Regions from separate parts of the Homo sapiens genome. Here region 2 is linked to region 1. Evidence: promoter capture Hi-C in human tissues and cell types (Jung and others, 2019). All regions are on one chromosome and are shown on one strand. The core of a region is centred on a gene start or on the middle of the fragment in contact, and the rest is flanking DNA. Distances in the headings are between cores, read along the strand shown.

Region 1 (3,006 bases), core at 1-2,500:
ACTCAGGTCTCCAAACGGTGATGCTGGAGGGAGCAAAGGACATGACATGAAGTTTCTCCAGAGCCCTCTGGTACCAGTGGATCATAAGCGTTTGTGCATCTTGCAGTGGCTCCTTCACCAACTAGGAGAAGCCACAGGTGTGTCCCTGGGGATGGAGGCCACACCTTCAGATCGCCCCTGCAGGATCCAGCCACTTTTGTTCTGATGCATTTCACAAAAAGCTCAGTAATGCACAGAAGGAGAATTGATTGGAGGGAAAGAAAAAGTCAGGCTCACTAAGCCATGATGAATGCCAAGATGAAATGACAGTTCTTCAAGGTGTTAAAACCCAACTGCGCCCCACACCCCACAATTTTCCCTTGCTCCAAATGGCAGCAAAACCTCCTCTCTGAATGCTCCGTCCTTGCACCACATCAATAGGGCAGAGAAGAGCGAGTTGACCTTTCTTCCCCACCCCACTTCTCTCTGACTTTCAATAACAGCAAATGATTCGGTACTCTACATATGTATTATTTAATTCTCATAACCACTCTGTCAAGTGGATACTATTATTATCATCCCCATTTTACAGGAGAGGCAACTGAGGCTCAGAGAGGTTGGGTCACTTGCCCAAGATCACACAGCCACACACACAGAAGGCAGAGCCGGAGTTGAACTTGGGCGTTGAACTTGGGGAGTTGAACTTGGGCATTCTGACTCCAGAGTTCCTGCCTCTAACCACTCTCCCTCCTGTGCTGACCCTGATTTGGGGACTGCCCACTTCAGGAGGGGGACACCTAACCCAACAGCACAGAAAGAAAGGTTTTAAATTTGCAAGTTCAAAAGGTGAAAACAAAAACATTCTTTTTCCCAGCTGCCTGAACAAGAGAAAAGAATTACAATTTGATCCTTAAAAGCATTCAATCCCATTTTGCAAGTCCTGGGAGTTATTGATTCCTCGAGAGGTCAGTAGACAAGCCATAAAAAAGCCAACTCTCTTATTTTGTGTTTGTGAGTCCCCGAGAGCTGCTGTTATTTGTGGCCTATCGGGGCATTGATTGGGGTTCCTCTGTGCCCGCGCAGTCAATGGGGCTTTTTCCACAAGGGGCTGGAGGCTTTGAGGGCCGCCTTCCTCCCCCTCCGCCGTGGTCCCTCGCTTGTAGTGGCTTCCTCTCCTCGCCCACCCGGCATCATCACCTCCTGGAGCCCTTGTACTCACCATGGTGGAAAGGACCCAGCACTGCCTCCCGAGAAGAATTCCACACTCCGCCCAGCTCTCTGCAGCCCAGGAACAATAAATACTTCCTCCCCATGTTTAAAAATAACCCCATGACCGCTTTTGGCAGTCATAGGTGAGGCGGGCACCACCTAAGGCCCCCCCACCCCATGCCGTTCTTCTGAAGTAAGGGTGGCTCACTCGCCACTGGGTGACACGTGAGCCCCCAAAAAGGCATTCAAGGTTAAAGAGGCAGTAGCTGGGTCATGGTCACGGGGAGAGATGCTGCGCGCTCTCTGCGGTGCTTGGGCCGGGGACACTTGTGCTTGTCAATTTTGAGAAAAAAAATGGCAGGGAGAGGAGACTGCTAAAATGCTCTGTTTTATCAGCCTGGATCTGGCCTCAGGGTCTTTGCACCTGTGTGCCCTCTACCTGGAATGTCTTTCTGTCAGTCATCGCACGGCTCCTTCCTTCACCTCCTTCACTGCATCTTTGCTCATATGTCATCTCCTGAGTGAAGCCTCCCCGACCACCATCTTTAAAATAACCATGAAGGCTGGCACTGTGGCTCATGCCTGAAATCCCAGCACGGCGGGAGGCCGAGGCGGGAAGATTGCTTGAGCCTAGGAGTTTGCGACCAGCCTGGGTGACATAGGGAGATGCCTGTCTCTACGCAAAAGAAAAAAAAATAGCTGTGCGTGGTGGTGCATGCCTATAGTCTCAGCTATTCAGGAGGCTGGGACAGGAGGATCACTTGGGCCCGGGAGGTTGAGGCTGTGGTGAGCCACGATCACACCACTGCACTCCAGCCTGGGTGACAGAGCAAGACCCTGTCTCAAAACAAACAAATAACACAGCCACGCACCTCCTGCGCTCCGATCTCCCTTCTTTGTTTCTCTGCACAGCGTGAGGCAGTCCCGAACACTGCCCACAGTGCACTGACTCATTTTCTTCAGCATCTGTGGAGCGTCAGCTCAGAGGGCAGGGATCACTTTAGTTTCCCTCACCACTGACTGTCTCCCCAGCTCCCAGCTCATGATGCACACAGCAGCAGCTCAAAAATAAATATTTGTTGACTGAAGAAATGACAAATCTCATTGACTGAGCACTGGCACGTGCCGGACACTATGTGCTCATGGCTCCCACACATAATTTTCCAGCCACCCTAGAGGGTGGGGACCACCTCATCATCCATGCCCCCATTTTACAGATGCGGAAACAAAAGCTCAGAGAGGCGAAGTGAGCTGCCCAGGGTCACACAGTGATGGAGCTAGGCGTGGACCCCTCTGGAGGCCCCTTTGTCTCCAGAGTCCAGGCTCTTTAAGAGCCTTGAAAACAGCAGCTGCTCTCAGAATGCAAGGTGTCATTATATAATACTTTTACTGAAGACAGCTTTCCTGCTGGGTGCAGTGGCTTATACCTGAAATGCCAGCACTTTGAGAGGCTGAGGCGGGTGGATCACTTGAGTCAGGAGTTCAAGACGACCTTGGCCAACATGATGAAACTTGTCGCTACTAAAAATACAAAAATTAGCCAGGCGTTGTGGCGCGGGCCTGTAGTCCCAGCTACTCAGGAGACTGAGGCAGGAGAATCGCTTGAGGCCGAGAGGCAGAGGTTGCAGTGAGCCGAGATAGCGCCATTGCACTCCAGCCTGGGCGACAGAGTGAGACTCTGACTCAAAAAAAAAAAAAAAAAAAAAAAGGACGGGCATGTTGGCTCACACCTAGCACTTTGGGAGGCCGAGGCGGGTAGATCACCTGAGGTCAGGAGTTCAAGACCAGTCTGGCCAACATGACAGAACCCCATCTCTA
Region 2 (3,006 bases), core at 133-2,632, 390 kb before region 1:
ATACTACAGTGAACAAAATAAACAAGCTTCCTCAACTTGTTTAGAGACTAGAGCGGGTATCACGTATCGGGACTAGGGTATAGGTATAACATGACTAAATATATAATTTTTGAAAGGCTGTGTTTAGTTCAATAAAGGAGAAGTTCAGGGTGCTTGGAGAAGATTTAATGGTATGTACTGCCTTAATCCAGGTCAGAACGTCTTCCCCTTGAAACTGGTGTTTGAGCTGAGCTGGAAAGGATGAGGGCATGGGGGTGGGAGTAGAGCTCAGGGAGGGCGGCCTGTGCAAAGGCCCCAGCAGGGGAGGGAGCCTGGGGGCTTGAAGGAGCTGAGGGATGGCCACTGTGGTTGGAGATCAGAGCCAGAGGGAGACAGTGGCACAAGGGGAGGCTAGAGTGCTTGGTAAGAGCCAGATCATGCTGGAGAGTCCTGGAAGCTGTGCAAGCGGCCAAAGTACCTGGGTATTTAAAATATTTGAATGGCTTTACCTGGGAGGGCTGACAGACTGAATGTTGACTGGATGACTTTAGCTGAAAGTGTTATATGAAAAACGGGCTTCAGTGAGGCAATAGTCACCCAATTGTAGCATCTGAGAGATGGTGATTACTTAGATGAGAAGTGGAGAGAGGCGGCTGAAATAGTTCATTTAGGAGCCAAAACTAGCAGGACTTGGTGATGGATTGGTTATGGGGGTTAAGGAAAAAGGTATCCAGGGAGGTCTTAGGTTTGGAGAAGTAGATTCAGGGCTTAGTAAGATCATGAATTCAGTTTTGGATATGTTAAGGGAATGCTAATTGCATGTAGCGGGTAAAGACCCGCAGTGCCGCCCACCATCTTCCTCCCTGCAGGACAGCTCTACACCAAAGACTCATAAGGCCTCAAATGGCAGCAGCGCTGAGGTTAAGTAACCCAAGTTCAGAGGCTGCTTAGAAGAGGGCAAGCTGGCTGAGCTGAGATTAGCCAGGAGAGTGCGGCATGAGAAAGATGTCAGAGTGAATAACAAGTGGGGAGGACTGAAAATGGGTCCTGACTTTAAGGATGTGGTAAATTCTGTTGACCATAAGTTTCTGTGATATGGGGGTCAGTGAGGGAGAAGCTTTTTTTGTTGTTTTTGTTTGTTTGAGACAGTCTTGCTCTGTTGCCCAGGCTGGAGTGCAGGGGCACAATCTTGGCTCACTACAACCTCCACCTCCCGGGTTCAAGTGATTTTTGTGCCTCAGACTCCCAAGTAGCTGGGATTACAGGCATGCATCACCACACCCAGCTAATTTTTTGTATTTTAGTAGAGACAGGGTTTCACCATCTTGCTCAGGCTGGTCTCGAACTCCTGAGCTCAGGTGATCCACCCGCCTTGGCCTCCCAAAGTGCTGGGATTACAGGCGTGAGCTACCGTGCCGGGCCTGGAGAAGCTTTTTTTAAGTAAAGAGTAGGAGAATGAGAAGATGGAGACAGTGGGTGTAGACAGCTCTACAATTAGAGATAAAGCAGTAACTGAAGGGGGAAATGGGATGAGGTTAGGCTATTTGTTTGTTTGTTTAGAGATGGAGTTTCGCTCTTGTTGCCCAGGCTGGCAGTGGCTCAATCTCAGCTCACTGCAACCTCTGCCTCCCAGGTTCAAGTGATTCTCCTGCCCCAGCCTCCCTAGTAGCTGGGATTACAGGTGCCCGCCACCATGCCCAGCTAATTTTTTGTATTTTTAGTAGAGACGGGGTTTCACTATGTTGGCCAGGCTGGTCTCGATCTCCTGACCTCAGGTGATCCACCTGCCTCAGCCTCCTAAAGTGCTGGGATTACAGGCGTGGGCCACCGTGCCTGGCTATTTCTGTATTTTAAAGATAAGAAGACTGAGCACAGTGGCTCATGCCTGTAATTCTAGCACTTTGGGAGGTGAAGGCAGGAGGATTGCTTGAAGCCAGGAGTTTGAGACCAGCCTGGGCCACGTAGCAAGACCTGGTCTTTACGGAAAAAAAAAAAAAGGCTGCGCATGGTTGTGCATACCTGTAGTTACAGCTACTCCAGAGGCTGAGGTGGGAGGATTGCCCAGGAGTTTGAGGCTGCGGTGAGACGTGATCACACAGCTGCACTGCAACCTGGGCAATAGGGCAAAACCTGATAACAAATAAAAAGGTGAAGATGAGAGGCATTTGAGCATTTGAAAATGCTAACATTCCCAGGGTGCTGGGATGCAGAGATAGGGAGGAAAGGACTGGCTTTAACTTGGAAGAGTGGCTTCTGCCGTAGCAGGAGGGGAAGGGAAGAAGATGGATTAATTAATCCAGTGGCTTACGGAGGCTTCGTTGACCTCTGCCTCTCAGTTCTGGTGGAAGCTTTGATGGCTCAGGAGGGGAGTCAGCAGCAGACCATTGATCCCAAACTGAAGATTGTCATGTGCCTTTGAAGGCAGGGAAAGGTTTGTTTTTTTTGTTTAATTTTTTGAGATGGAGTCTTGCTCTGTCCCCAGGCTGTAGTGCAGTGGCACGATCTCGGCTCACTGCAAGCTCCGCCTCCCGGGTTCACGCCATTCTCCTGCCTCAGCCTCCCGAGTAGCTAGGACTACAGGTGTCCGCCACCACACCCAGCTAATTTTTTTTTGTATTTTTAGTAGAGACGGGGTTTCACCATGTTAGTCAGGATGGTCTCGATCTCCTGACCTCGTGATCCGCCCACCTTGGCCTCTCAAAGTACTGAGATTACAGGCGTGAGCCACCATGCGCGGCCAAGGTTTGGTTTTAGGACGTGTTGGACCAATAATGAAGGTTCTGGGTGTTCTGTGAACCATCACCAGCAAAGACAGGGATATAATACTGGTCAGGTTTCTGAGGAGGGCTGTCACCTGGAGCATTTAATGAGCAAACTTTCTCTTTGGAATCAACAATGCAGTTCCTTTTTTCCCTCCAGTTTTCTTGCATGTTCTTTGGAGCAGTTTCTTCTGACCAGCAAGAACACTTCAACCACCCTTTCGACAGTCTGGCAAGAGCAAGTGACAGTGAAGAGGACATGAATAAT

What was found. Contacts are between HindIII fragments. The study calls those that stand out against the background at their distance.
Region 2: a contact is called between a fragment that was not itself captured here and the fragment with the promoter of MYL2 in region 1, in 1 of the 25 tissues and cell types used here (spleen).

Annotation. Positions count from the first base shown.
Region 1 is chr12:110,919,329-110,922,334 of GRCh38, forward strand. MYL2 (myosin light chain 2) reads right to left here and starts at 1,251. Exons shown (of 7, transcript NM_000432.4): 1 at 1,199-1,251. The coding sequence starts at 1,201. RefSeq lists an enhancer at 1-2,059. The HindIII fragment of the contact is 26,604 bases long and covers 1-3,006 here.
Region 2 is chr12:110,527,627-110,530,632 of GRCh38, forward strand. RAD9B (RAD9 checkpoint clamp component B) reads left to right here. Exons shown (of 11, transcript NM_001286535.2): 11 at 2,899-3,006. Among named protein-coding and RNA genes, the nearest start is that of RAD9B, 27 kb to the left of the region's middle. RefSeq lists an enhancer at 2,695-2,944. The HindIII fragment of the contact is 4,060 bases long and covers 1-3,006 here.